Regions from separate parts of the Homo sapiens genome. Here region 2 is linked to region 1. Evidence: promoter capture Hi-C in human tissues and cell types (Jung and others, 2019). All regions are on one chromosome and are shown on one strand. The core of a region is centred on a gene start or on the middle of the fragment in contact, and the rest is flanking DNA. Distances in the headings are between cores, read along the strand shown.

Region 1 (6,843 bases), core at 4,344-6,843:
CTCTCCCCTTGTAGGTGACACATGCTCTGCCCTCTGAGGCAGTCAGCGAAGGCAAATGGTCTGACTTCTTTATGTGGTCAACATTTTGATAGAATTTCTTTATAATTTGATAGAGATTATATTATTTTTATTTTATTTTGAGTGGGAAGAATTTTAAAACCTTTTTATGTCAATTACCATCTTGTTTCTTTCACCTTTGAAACAATGGTTTGTAGCAGAGATGACATTGTAGCAACCCAGAATTATGCTTTTGGAATGTGGTCCTCACTGTACAGGAGAATGTGTAATCTTTTGTTAAAATTCCCAGTGTGCATACATTTTCTGGTTCCTCGGTCCAGTTGCTAAAGTTCTTAGTATTTTAGCCTAACATATTTATCACCAACTTTTCTTTAAAAGTGTTCCTTTTGTCACTTAGTTACTGATTTTCCTGGGTTTGACATAAGTATTCTATGAGATGATATATATGCTTTTTTTGAAAGCTGATTCTCATGAATTCAAGTAGCTGAGTTCCTTTATGTTTCGTTTATTCACTAAAGTAGCTGACACAAAACACACCAAAACCTAGAGCGGTAGTTTTATGTAAATGCTCATGAGTTTGTATCAATAATATAATTGTTGATCCACTTATAATTCGTGCAACACTGTATGTATGTAGAGATTGAGTTGTCAATTAAAAAAAATGTGGCCTCTTTGTGATCATAAAATTGCCTTTTATTATTGAGGGGAGAGGGTTTGGGACAGCAGCTGCTAAAGCCAATAAAAAAATGACTGTCTTTTTTGCCTAGGCTGCCTGTCACCAGGCGTCCTCCCTACCTGACACTGTTTCGTCCAGAGTCCTAGCTGCTGATTCTCCACACAGCCCTGGAGAGACCATCTCAGGTGTCTCTCATCTCCCTGGCTTTGCTAGCCTCTTTTTCCTCCTTGTTCCCCATGAGGGTCATCCATCCCCCAAGCAGGTTCCTCATGTCCTTAGGACGAGAGCATTATCACTACCTGGAGTGCTTTTCCCTCTGTCATCTGAGCTTTTATGTGAACCTCCTCCAAGAAGGTTCTCAGCTGTTCACTCAGGCACAGTAGTGAGCACTGACTCTCCACTAGCCCTGAGCTTTCACAGGTCATCAAAGACAGTCCCAACCTCAGAGAGCTTCAAGTCGGCAAATGAGACACCAGCGAAGAGCATCGATCACCATGGTAAGTGTTGTGAGCAGCTGGTGGTGATGGCATGCTCACTGCATGCCAGGAAGTGTTCTAATAAACATCATCTCAGCAATCGAGAATGCAGGTCTGACTACTGTCTTTTTCATAGATAAACCAAAACACAGCTTAAATAAAATAGCTAAGGTGGCCAAGTCAGAATCGTACCCTGTGTCTATGGCTCCAGATGCTGTGCTCCCAGCTGTTAGGCCATACTGCGTGTCCTGATAGAACCAACGGAGTGCGCTTCTAAAAAGGTAGCCTACAGGTTATGACCCCTGCGCCTAGTTGAAAGAGATTTGGGGAAGAGGGAAGACAGTGAACAGTACTAAAGAGGGTTGAAAAAACACAGAGGGCGTGTTCTCACTCATAGGTGGGAATTGAACAATGAGAACACTTGGACACAGGGCAGGGAACATCACACACCAGGGCCTGTCGTGGGGGAGGGATAGCATTAGGAGATATACCTAATGTAAATGACGAGTTAATGGGTGCAGCACACCAACACGGCACATGTATACATAAGTAACAAACCTGCACGTTGTGCACATGTACCCTAGAACTTAAAGTATAATAAAAAGTAATAATAAAAACACAGTGAAGCTAAGCACTCCGGAGAATGAGGCCCGGAGAGGAGCAGTAAGGCTGGAGGGCAAGGTAGATGCCTGGGGCGTTTGGGCTTTCTGCAAGTTCTGTAGGCCTTGGGGCCACTGAAAGTGTTTAGGGGCACTCATTAGAAAATTGCATTTGGAAGTGTTTCCATGGCCTGGACTAGGCTGGCTGATGAGGACAGGAAGAAGCTACTGCAAAGCCCGCTATAATAGGACCTGAGCAGGGACCCGTGAGAGAAAGGCTTAGGAGGCAGAAAGGATGGTACTCTATCCGTAGCCCAACCTCATCAGCCAGTGTTCTGTGACTCATTTCTATTTGTACAGGCAGTACTTGTACTGTTCATTGGTTTTGGTTCTTGTCTCTTGTACAATATTGAAAGGATCTTGGAGACAGGAACGCAATTGCTTCTTCAGTGTTCGTTTAGCATCGGGCAGGTCAGAATTATTTTTGCAAAATGGCTCCATCCTACGGCCATGTCACACCATGTCATGCAAGCCTTAGCCCTCACCAGGAAGGTTCTGTCTGTTGCACCACATTCATCCACATTCTACTCACAAACACTGGTCATTGTGTTAGGCGATTTGGTAGTGCCCCTGGGTGATGTGTAGGCCAGCAGATCTGTCGCTTAGCAGCAGACTTCAGGCTTTTCATGATCAGTTATAAGCCCACTCTTCCACATCAGGATGCTAAATTGAATGAATCAGGCCATGAGGACAGAGGCCTGCTGTGCTTCATTGTTGCAGGGCGCCTCCCAGCCCTCTGTCACCGGACCCACCAGAATGATTTTTTTTTTCTCAAACAGGAAAGGGTTGGGAACAATCCCTACAAGATCAGATGTCCCTAAGATTTCCAGTATTTCCTAGGTTTCACTCAGCAGGAAATACCTCAAAAAAAAAATGGCCTTTCTTGTCATGTTTTGATACCTGAGAAATCAGGAAATGGAAAAGCCTGTGCTAAGCTGAGCTGTAAGCAACATCAGTGTCTCATTTGAGCCTTAGAGCAGACGTGGCATGGGCCAGACACAGCATCGACCCAGAATAAACCCAAATACAGCTCACCTGAGCTCAGTGCAGGCTGGGAGGCTGGCCTGGAAAGGTGTAGGTTTGGGGTGAGATATGCCTGGATTTGAATCATGGTTCCTGTCATTTTGTAGCCATGTAACCTTCTGTAAAACAGTCTCAGAATTTGGGGGGATGTGATGAGCTAACTACACATAAATGGCATCCTGCTAAGGGTAGACGTTTCATACGTTGTAATTCTTGTCCCTTTTAGCCATTTTCTTGTGCAAAAAGGGATAATATGTTAATGGATTATCAATCAAAGCAAGAGCTTAGGGAAAGAGTTTCAACACATTTAGGGAGTTATTGTCCCATATTCAAATCTGGGGGAAATTTGCTGTATTTCCTTCAAATAAAAGACCACAGTAACTTCTTTGAAAAGAACCATAAATTTCAAATATAAACATTCGGAGAAATTTCATTCTCTTAGTAGCTGATTAACTATAGACAAACCTGCCTTAATTGAGGAGCTGTTTTGAAAGCTCATTCCCCAGTAGGAACTCAATCTCCTGGTCCCAGGTGGGTCTCATCAGACAAGAGATGGAGGAGAGAGGGAGGTGCACCCTAGCCTCAGCCTCTATTGAAATACAGAGCCATGTGGTGGTTACATCACTGTGGACTCCCATCCTCCCTTGCTGCTGTGCAGTGTTCAGGGAAGGCTTCATTTCACACCAACCTTTAGCGGGGCAAGGGCTCTGTACCAGCGGTACTCAGCTTAAAACTAGCCTACTTTGAGGGCCTTGATGGGTTACTGCTTTTACTTCCACTAGCTAGTGATTCCGAAACTTTTCATGATGAAGTGCCCATTTATTGGGCCAGGTGTGTTGGCTCAAGCCTGTAATCCCAGCACTTTGGGAGGCAAAAGTGGGCAGATCACCTGATCCCAGGAGTTCAAGACCAGCCTGGGCAACGTGGTAAAACGCCGTCTCTACAAAAAATACAAAAATTAGCTGGTCATGGTGGTACATGCCTGTAGTCCCCGTTGCTCAGGAGACCAAGGTGAGAGGATCACTTTAGCCCAGGAGGTAGAGGTTGCAGTGAGCCAAGATCGTACTACTGCACTCCAGCCTGGATGACAGAGCAAGACCCTGTCTCAAAAAAAAAAAGAATAAAAAATAAAGTACTCATTTTTTGTTCTCCATGGATTCTATGTCTTGAAGCAGTCCTCAAACTTTAAGGTGCAAATAAGTCACCTGGGGGTCTTGTTAAAAAGCAGATTCTTGGCCGGGCGCAGTAGGTAGCTCACGCCTGTAATCCAGCACTTTGGGAGGCTGAGGCGAGTGGATCACTTGAGGTCAGGAGTTCGAGACCAGCCTGGCCAACATGGTGAAACCCCATCTCTACTAAAAATACACAAAAATTAGCCAGACATAGTGGTGGGCGCCTCTAGTCCCAGCTACTCAGGAGGCTGAGGCAGGAGAATCACTTGAACCTGGGAGGTGGGGAGGTTGCAGTGACATGAGATGGCACCACTGCATTCCAGCCTGGGTGACAGAGCAAAACTGTCTCAAAAAAAAAAAAAAAGCAGATTCTGTAACAAAGGTCCAGGGCAGAGCCTGAGATTCTGCATTAGTAGCAAAGGCCCAAGTGAAGCCAGTGCTGTTGCTCTGCAGAACACCTTTGAATGGCAGGCTTTTGAAATATTTTCTCATTGGAAGAATCTTCTGTATTTATTAAATTCTGCTTAAAATTATTAACTTTCTTGTATATCCATGTTCATAACAGCATTATTCACAATAGCCAAAAGGTAGGAACAACCCAGGTGTCCATTGACAGGGGACAGGGGGTGAGAAATTTATTTCATGGACACAGATTCAGGTGGAAAAGATGAAAAAGCTCTGGAGATGGAAGGCAGTGCAGGTGGCACAACAATGTGAATGTACTGAATGCCACAGAACTGTGTACCTAAAACGGCTTAACACGGTAAGCTTCATGTTATGGATATGTTGCCACGGTGTTCACAAGTTATTAACTCAATCAGACTATTTAAATGCCCAGTAGATTGCATTCTGGGGAAATGGCTGTTTCAGGAAAATTTTCAGTGATTGCCACAGGGACCTCCCATGGGTGGGGAATGGAGTCTGGAGCACGGCTGCATGGCTCATGGAGAGAATTTGCACAGCCAGGTAGCCCCTGGTCCACTTCTACCCATATCTGGCCAGGTGCAAAGAGCATAGCTGTACCTTCTATTATCTCTCTCAATTTCTTATTTGCACTTTGCCCATGTCTATAGAAGGAAAAACTTGACTGATTAAAAATTACATTCACGGCACCTGTAGTCCCAGCTACTCAAGAGGCTGAGGCAGGAGAATGGCGTGAACCCGGGAGGCGGAGCTTGCAGTGAGCTGAGATCGTGCCACTGCACTCCAGCCTGGGCGACAGAGTGAGACTCCATCTCAAAAAAAAAAAAAAATTATACTCACGCCAGCCTGGGCAACATGGCGAAACCCCATCTCTAGAGAAAAATACATAAATTAGCCAGGCGTGGTGGCGTGCGCCCGGGGTCCCAGCCACAAGCTGAGGCAGAAAAAAAAGTAGCTACTCAGCTACTCAATGTTCACTCTTTAAAAATGCTTTTCCATCATCCTCCACCGTCTCCCACCCCCCACCAAGCAGCAAGATAATTCCCCATCGCTTAGCATCATATAGCTGCTTATGTGACCTTGAGAATGTCCACATGTCACAATGGACAGTCACTTAACACTAAGCAATGACACATGCTAGGAGTGGGGCTGGGCCTTGGGGCTGCTGGATGAATGAGACCCAGCCTCTGCCCTGGGAGTGCAGAGACTCAAGACAGATATGACCACGTGAAGAGACAACTGTAAAACAAGTGGTAAGTGCATCTACAGCCATAGCCACGGGGCACTGTGAGACCACAGAGCAGTGAAAACTAAGCCAGTCTAGGCTTGGCAAGGAGAGATGGAGTGAGGTGGGCAGTGGCTAAGGTGGGAAGACCAGAGCTGGGAGGTGAGATGGGATTTGGGTTTATCTTTACCAATAAGGATGAGGAGCCTGTTTCATCTTCCTCCAGGCAGGTCACAGAAGCTGGAACCAGTTGATCGGGCCGAGCCTGCAGACTCCCTCATCCTTTCCGGCCTTCAACACTGATAGCTCTGCTCTCTCTCCCCAACCTCAGTGCCTTCATCCTCCCCTGTGTTCCCATGGATGCTTGGTCCTGACTTTGCACCTCTCCCTCACACCCAGTGTCCTTTGTTTTTCCTCTGCCACTTGGGAGGCTGATGGGAGGATCACCTGAGCCTGGGAGGTTGAGGCTGCAGTGACCTGTGTTCACGCCACTGCACTCCAGCTGGGGTGACAGAATGAGAGCCTATCTCAAAGAAAAAAAAAAAACACTGCTCTGTATGATACTATCAAAGTGGATATATGTAATTGCACATTGTGAAATCTCATAGAATGCACAACACCAAGAATGGACCGTAATGTAAACTGTGAAGTATGGGCTTTAGTTAGTAACCATGCATTGATACCGGCTCATCAAGTATAACAAACGTACCACACAAACATAAGTAGTAAAAAAAAAAGGGGAAAGCTGTGTGTATGGTGCAGAGAAGGGGGGTTGTGGGAACATTGTACTTTCTAACCAATTCTAAAATTGCTCTAAAATTTAAGTATATTAATATTTTTAAAAAAAGTTTCGTTAAATTAGCAATATAATAGTTGCTTACCCAAGAAAATTCAGGTTTTCAAATATTGCGTTTTAAAAGCAATTATTTCCGGATGTGAGGGTGATCTGGCTGCAACATCTGTCACCCCACTGATGGCCAGGGTTAATTTGTCTGATCTGGCTGGCTAGGTGGATGTCTCCTTCCTCCCTCATCCGTCCACATGCGTCCTTCCAGACGCTGCGGACAACCTTCCCCAACAGAGGAGGGCCGTTCTTTGGGCAAGGGTATATGAGTAGCTGCACTCCCCTGCTAGAACCTCCAAACAAGCTCTCTAAAAGTAATTACTTCAA
Region 2 (6,843 bases), core at 2,901-5,400, 530 kb after region 1:
GGGATTATAGTATTAGTAATCTGAATACCATCTAAAAACAAAAATCAGACCCGGTAGTACATTTCTATATAAATGTTCAAATTTAACATTTTGGGAATGTAAATATTAAACAGTGAAGGCACAACGTGAAAAGCTCCACTAATATCTAACTCATAAGTTTAAAAAAAAGTGACCTGGTTTCCCTTCTTAATCTCTGCTCATTTCTCACTTAATTCATGCTGAGAATGAACTGCCCTATGGAGAAATTCCAGGCACTTGCTGTCTTTGCCTCACATTTTTCCTTAAGGGGAAAATGATTTAAAATTATGAAGATTATAAGGATATTGGTTATATAGGGATTAAAAACAATAATAAAGTCAGCCAGAGGGATTTATGGTCGGATAATGTTAATAAAAATCTGAACACTGCCTACATGTAATAGAGTTTAATGAATTAAAAAATATTATTTTAACAAGAACTCTTTAGGTTTATTAATTTATGGTCAACACACTTTCTAGACTCCTTTTTGGTGCATGGTGAAAACTAATCTCTCACCTTTTAATTTAATCTTATTGATTTTAACTTTTATTTATATTTGAAACAACTTTTTTCCCAATTTTTAACACAAGGTTCATATTTTGATCTTTAAAAAAATATTTATTTTAAAAATTGGTGGTAAAACATATATAACATAAAATTTACCATTTAAATCACTTTTAAGTGTGTAGTTTAGTGGCATCAAGTATATTCACATTGTTGTGCGGCAGCCACCACCATACATCTATGGAACTTCTTTTATCTTCTCAAATTGAAACTCTGTATATATTAAACAATTACTCTCCCCCTCCCCCATAATCCATTCCCTGGCAGGCACTGTTCTATTTTCTGTTGCTATGAATTTGACAACTCTGAGTAGGTCACATGAGTGGAATCAATCATACAGCGTTTATCTTTTTGTGACTGGCTTATTTCATTTAGCACAATGTCTTCAAGGTTCGTTCATGTTGTACCGTGTGTCAGGACTTTCTTTTTAAGGCTGGATAATCTGTTATATGTATATACCAGATTTTGTTTATGCATTCATCCGTTGATGAATGGACACTTGGGTTGCTTGTGAATAATGCTGCTTTGAATCTAGGTATGTAAACATCTCTTCAAGACCTTGCTTTTTATTTATTTATTTTTAAAATTTTTTTAGATGGAGTCTCGCTGTGTTGCCCAGGCTGGAGGGCAGTGGCGCGATCTCAGCTCACTGCAACCTTTGCCTCTGGGTTCAAGTGATTCTCCTGCCTCAGCCTCCTAAGTAGCTGGGACTACAAGTGTGTGTCACCATGCCTGGCTAATTTTTTTTTGTATTTTTAGTAGAGACGGGGTTCTACCGTATTAACCAGGATGGTCCCTGTCTCCTGACTTCATGATCCACTTGCCTCGGCCTCCCATGGAAGACCTTGCTTTCAGTTCTTTTGAGTATATACCCGGAAGTGGAATTGCCAGATTGTATGGTAATTCTATTTTTAATTTTTCAAGGAACCTTCATACTGTTTTTCATAGTGGCTGCACCATTTTATATTCCTATCAATAGTGCACAAAGATTCTAATCTATGCACATCAACACTTACTATTTTGTGTTTTTGTTTTGTTTTTGGTAGCAGCCATCCTAATAGCTACGAAGTGATATCTTGTAGTTTTGATTTGCCTTCATGTTGCTGTATTTGGTTTCCTAGTATTTTGTTGAAGAGTTTTGCATTAATGGTCATAAAGAATACTGGTCTGTCATTTTCTTGTAACATCTGTCTGACTTTGGTATCAGGGCTGTACTGGCCTTATAGAATGAGGTAGGAAGCGTTCCTTCTTCACTTTTCTGGAAGAGTTGAAAAGAACTGGACTTTTTTTTTTTTAAGTATTTTGTAGAATTTACCAGTGAAGCCATCAGATTCAGGGCTTTGCTTTGTAAGGAGGTTTTTTTGTTTGTTTGTTTCAGACGGAGTCTCTCTTTGTCGCCAGGCTGGAGTGCAGTGGTGCCATCTTGGCTCACTGCAACCTCTGCCTCCTGGGTTCAAGCGATCCTTCTGCCTCAGCGTCCTGAGTAGCTGGGACTACAGACACGCGCCACCACGCCCAGCTAATTTTTTGTATTTTTAGTAGAGACAGGGTTTCACCATGTTGGCCAGGCTGGTCTCGATCTCTTGACCTTGTGATCCGCCCACCTTGGCCTCCCAAAGTGCTGGGATTACAGGCGTGAGCCACCGTGCCCAGCCTGTAAGGAGGTTTTTAATTACTGATTACATCTCCTCAATAGTTATGGGTCTATTTAGATTTTCTATTCCTTTGTGGTTCAGGCTTGGTAGGTTTTGTGTTTCTAGGAATTTATCTCATCTAGGTTATCCAATTTGTTGGTGTACTGTTGTTCACAGTACTCTGTTATAATCCTTTTTGGTTTTGTGGAATTGGTCATGAATGTCTCCCCTTTCATTTCTGATTTTAGTAATTTGAGTCCTCTCTCTTTTAAATCTTGCTAAAGGTTTGTCAGTTTTGTTAATCTTTTCAAAGCACCAACTTTTGGTTTTGTTGATTTCTTTATTGTTTTTCTAGTCTCTATTTTAATTATTTCTCCTCTGGTCTTTTTTATTTTCTTCCTTCTGCTCACTTTGGGTTTAGTTCTTCTTTTTGTAGTTCCTTAGTTGTAAAGATAGGTTGTTTTGAGATCTGTCTTCCTTTTTAATGTGTTTATGTCTATAGATTTTCTCCTCAGCACTGCTTTTGCTATATCCTGTAAGTTTTGGTATGTCATGTCTTTGCTTTCATTTGTGTCTATTTTCTGGTTAACCCAGTGATTTCTTCTTTGATTCATTGGTTAAGAGTACGTTGTTTAATTTCCATAAATTTGTGTATTTTCCAGTTTTCTTTCTCAGATTGATTTCTAACTTAATCCTGTTGTGAGGTTGGAGAGCACACTTTGTATGATAAATATCTTTTAAAAGCAATTGAGACTTAATTTGTATCCTAATATGTGGCCTGTTTTGGAGAATGTTCTGTGTGCACTTGAGAGGAATTTATATTCTGTTGTTGAGTACCTTGTTCTAAATATATGTTAGATCTAGTTGATTCATTGTGTTGTTCAAATCATCTCTCTCTTCACTTCTTTCTGGTTGTTCTTTTCCTCATTGAGAATGGTGTATTAAGTATCCACCTTTTATTATAGAAGTATTTCTCCCCATAATTATGTTAATTTTTACCTCGTATTTTGATGATCTGTAACTACTTCATATATTTTGTTGGTGTGTAAATGTTTATAATTGTTTTATCTTCTTGCTCTGTTGAACTTTTTATTAATATATAATATACTTTTTCTCTTGTAAACTTATTTGATTCAGAGTCTGTTTTGTCTGATACTAGTATAGCCCTTCCTGCTCTCTTTTGGTTACTATTTGCATGGAATATCTTCTTCCATTCTTTCACGTTCCATGTATTTGTGCAATGGGATCTAAAGTAAGTCTCCTGCAGACAACATACAGTTGGATCATTTAAAAAAATCTATTCTGCCAGTCTTTGTGTTTTGATTGGCAAATTTAATCCCTTTACATTTAAAGTAATTACTTCCTAAAGTAAATTACTTATTTCTGTTCTTTGTTTTTTATATGCCATATTAGCTGTTTTTATTCCTCATATTTTATATATTTTGATTTATATTGGGATATTAGCTGGAGCTGACTTTGGGTTATAGTGGTTTTCTTCATAAAGTGGTTTCTTCAAAAAAACCCAAACCACTATTTGAGTTATAGTGGTTTCTTCATAGTCCCGTCCTGGCTAACATGGTAAAACCCCGTCTCTACTAAAAATACAAAAAATTAGCCGAGCCTGGTGGTGGGCGCCTGTAGTCCCAGCTACTTGGGAAACTGAGGCAGGAGAATGGCCGGAACCCAGGAGGTGGAGCTAGCAGTGAGCTGAAATCACGCCGCTGCACTCCAGCCTGGGCGACAGAGCAAGACTCTGTCTCAAAAAAAAAAAAAAAAAAAAAAGGGTCATAGTCATAGGTTAGAGGCAGAGAAAAATGTGTGTTTCAAGGTAAGATTTTAAATCTCATTTATCATCTGTATAGACTTAGAAATTTTGGCTTTGTTTAAGTCTGAAAATAGTTGAAATCTGAGTTGGAGGAAGAGTTATTTTAAACAAATCATTTAATAGTTGAAGGGTAATGAGATTCTGCTCTTCAAACCTACCTCATTTATTGATAGTAAAATGGAAATGTCACAAAGCAAAACTAATTAGACTTTTTATAAGTATCTGAACATTTTTTGTGGAGTAGTGTGTGAACCTTACAGATTTGTTTGGTTTTGATAAGAATGCATGATCAGGAAAGATACATAAGCTTTTTGTAGATTTACTCTTACCCATACTTTTTGATAAAATTAATGACAATAAAATAGGTGAAATCAATTTTCCTGTTTGAAGATTGGACTAAAATATAACATAATCATTGGGCTGGGCTTGGTGGCTCATGCCTGTAATCTCAGTACTTTGGGAGGCCAAGGTGGAAGAATTGCTTGAGCCCATGAATTTGAGACCAGCCTGGGCAATATGACAAGACCCGGTCTCTACAAAGAATGGAAAAAACAATTAGGTGGCTGGTGGTGTGCACCTGTGGTCCCAGCTGAGGCAGAAGGATTACTTGAGCCCAGGAGTTTGAGGCTGCCGTGAGCCTTGTTTGTGCCACTGTACTGTAGCCTGGGTGACAGAGCAAGACCGTGTCTCAAAAACAAACAAACAAACACACACAAAAAAACCAAAACACTTCCCTCCCCGAAAAAAAAAACCCTGCCAAACTACTTCCAAAGTAATTGCACCATTGTACATTCCTGTCAGCAATGTGTGAGGGTTCCAGTTTCCCACATCCTTGCTAACACTTGTTATTATCTGTCTTTTTAAAGTTTAGCCATTCTATTGGTTGTGAAGTGGTATCTCATAGTAGGCTAAGTTTCAAAATAGCAGTTAGGCATAACAGGAGTGATAGTACTTTAAGATGAAGTTAATGTTCCAATTAAAATATTGAATAGGCTGACCTAGGAATGGTTCTTGACCCTGGCTATGCATGATTAGTATCACTTCCTAATTTAAAAAAGTTGATGTCACAACTTCATTTCATTTCTGAGGATATTGTACGATTCCTCTCCTACTCCATGGCCCAAATCCTTCATTTAAAAATAAAACAGTAAAGACACACTTGTAGAGAAAGAACTACTTTCCCTTAAGCAAAGAGAAGGTTTACCATAGGCTGCTAAATAGTTTAAAGAATTGTTGGAATGTATCAGTATGGGTTCAATCAGGAGATAGAAACCACATAGTAATTTAACAGGGAAAGAATAATATAAGGAATTATTGACTGTAACAGGGGATTGGAGTAATAAGAGATTTACCAGTGAGAAGTAAAGATAATGCTAAAGAATATAGGAATAGCAGATATAAGGAGCAGTGACTATCCCAGGACTAAGATAGAGTGCGTTTCCATCTTCCAGATGAACTTAGATCTTATTGGAAAGGGCACGTTCAAGGCTATGTCAAAGGGCAAGTTCAAGCTATGGTACAGCACTAGTGGCATTTGCTGGAAATTTACCCCTTAGGGTACCAGGGAATGCTGTTTATGAAGAGGTATCTCATCAGAGACCTCTACTACAAAACTACCTAGGCTCTTATTGGAAAAGCAGCACACACTGAGGAGCCTGGTGGTAGAAGAACCATCCTTGTTGAAGGAGTGGGTCCCTGGAAAAGCCTTGCCTACTGGAGCCAAGTGAATGCCCTGGAACTAGGAAGCCCAATTCTTTTCCCTTGCAATGCTTTTCCAGAGCCGTCTACTGACACAGCTTAATGTCATGTCAGCTGGCAGATAAAAAAGATATTTAAAGGACACAAATTCATTTTCACAGAGCAGACAAAAAGGGCGAATTGGGAGATGAGGGGCAATAAATCAATATCTGGCACAGGCATTAAGTGGCTTACTTAGGAGGAATTAAGTTGAGAGATCTGAAGAAAGAGACATAGGTTGAGCTTTAAGGAACAACTCTCACATCTTACCACAGAACTGGGAAACCAAGAGAGTTACCTCTTTTATGATTAGGAAACCTCTGGTCTAATTGTGAAATTGCTTCTAGAGCTTCATTTCTGGAACCACACTGCTGTTTCAGAATCTGGAAACAGTTGAGGTCAGGAGGCTCTGGTAATCAGGAACCTCAGACTATCCTTACTAGCTGTAGAACCATGTTGGGCCTGTTCTGGTGTGCACCAGCTGCCTGCTAGTGACTGCCCCAACTTTTCTAAATCTTTATACCCTGGAGGAGCTGTGAAATAACTTTTAGGTCTCTTGTCTTTTTGATAATAGCCATCCTAACAGGTGTGAGGTGATGATATTTCACTGTGGTCTTGAATTCCATTTCTCTGATAAGTGATGTGGAGCAACTTTTTATATACCTGTTGGCTATTTTAATATATTCTTTGGAAGAGTATTCAGGTCTTTTGCTGATTTTTTAATTGGGTCATTCTTTTTTTTTTTGCTATTGAGTTGTGTTTCTTATGTATTTAAGATATTAACCCCTTGTATCTTGAGATAAGCTATATATCTAGATGTATGGCTGGCACATACTTTCTCCGAACCTATAGGCTGTCTTTCATTTGTTATTTCCTTTGGTGTGCAGAACTTTTTAGTTTGACGTAGTAGTCCCATTTGTTTTTGTTTTTGTTGCCCATACTTTAGATCCTATGCAAAAAATTGCCAAGACCAGTGCTGAGCAACTTGTTCACTGTGTTTTCTTCTAAGAGTTTTATGGTTTAGGTCTTACATTTAGGTCTTTAATTCAGTTAGTGTAATGTTTT

Evidence for each region. The method cuts DNA at HindIII sites, captures the fragments that hold promoters and counts their contacts. A contact is called where the count stands out against the background at its distance.
Region 2: a fragment that was not itself captured here is called in contact with the fragment with the promoter of C9orf153 in region 1 in 1 of the 25 tissues and cell types used here (lymphoblastoid cells).

The regions. Positions count from the first base shown.
Region 1 is chr9:86,258,407-86,265,249 of GRCh38, reverse strand. C9orf153 (chromosome 9 open reading frame 153) reads left to right here and starts at 5,593. Exons shown (of 4, transcript NM_001276366.4): 1 at 5,593-5,700. ISCA1 (iron-sulfur cluster assembly 1) reads left to right here. Exons shown (of 4, transcript NM_030940.4): 4 at 1-704. It also overlaps the pseudogene RN7SKP264. The HindIII fragment of the contact is 6,872 bases long and covers 2,024-6,843 here.
Region 2 is chr9:85,729,366-85,736,208 of GRCh38, reverse strand. All of the region lies in intron 1 of AGTPBP1 (ATP/GTP binding carboxypeptidase 1), which reads left to right. Among named protein-coding and RNA genes, the nearest start is that of AGTPBP1, 9.2 kb to the left of the region's middle. The HindIII fragment of the contact is 5,941 bases long and covers 1,180-6,843 here.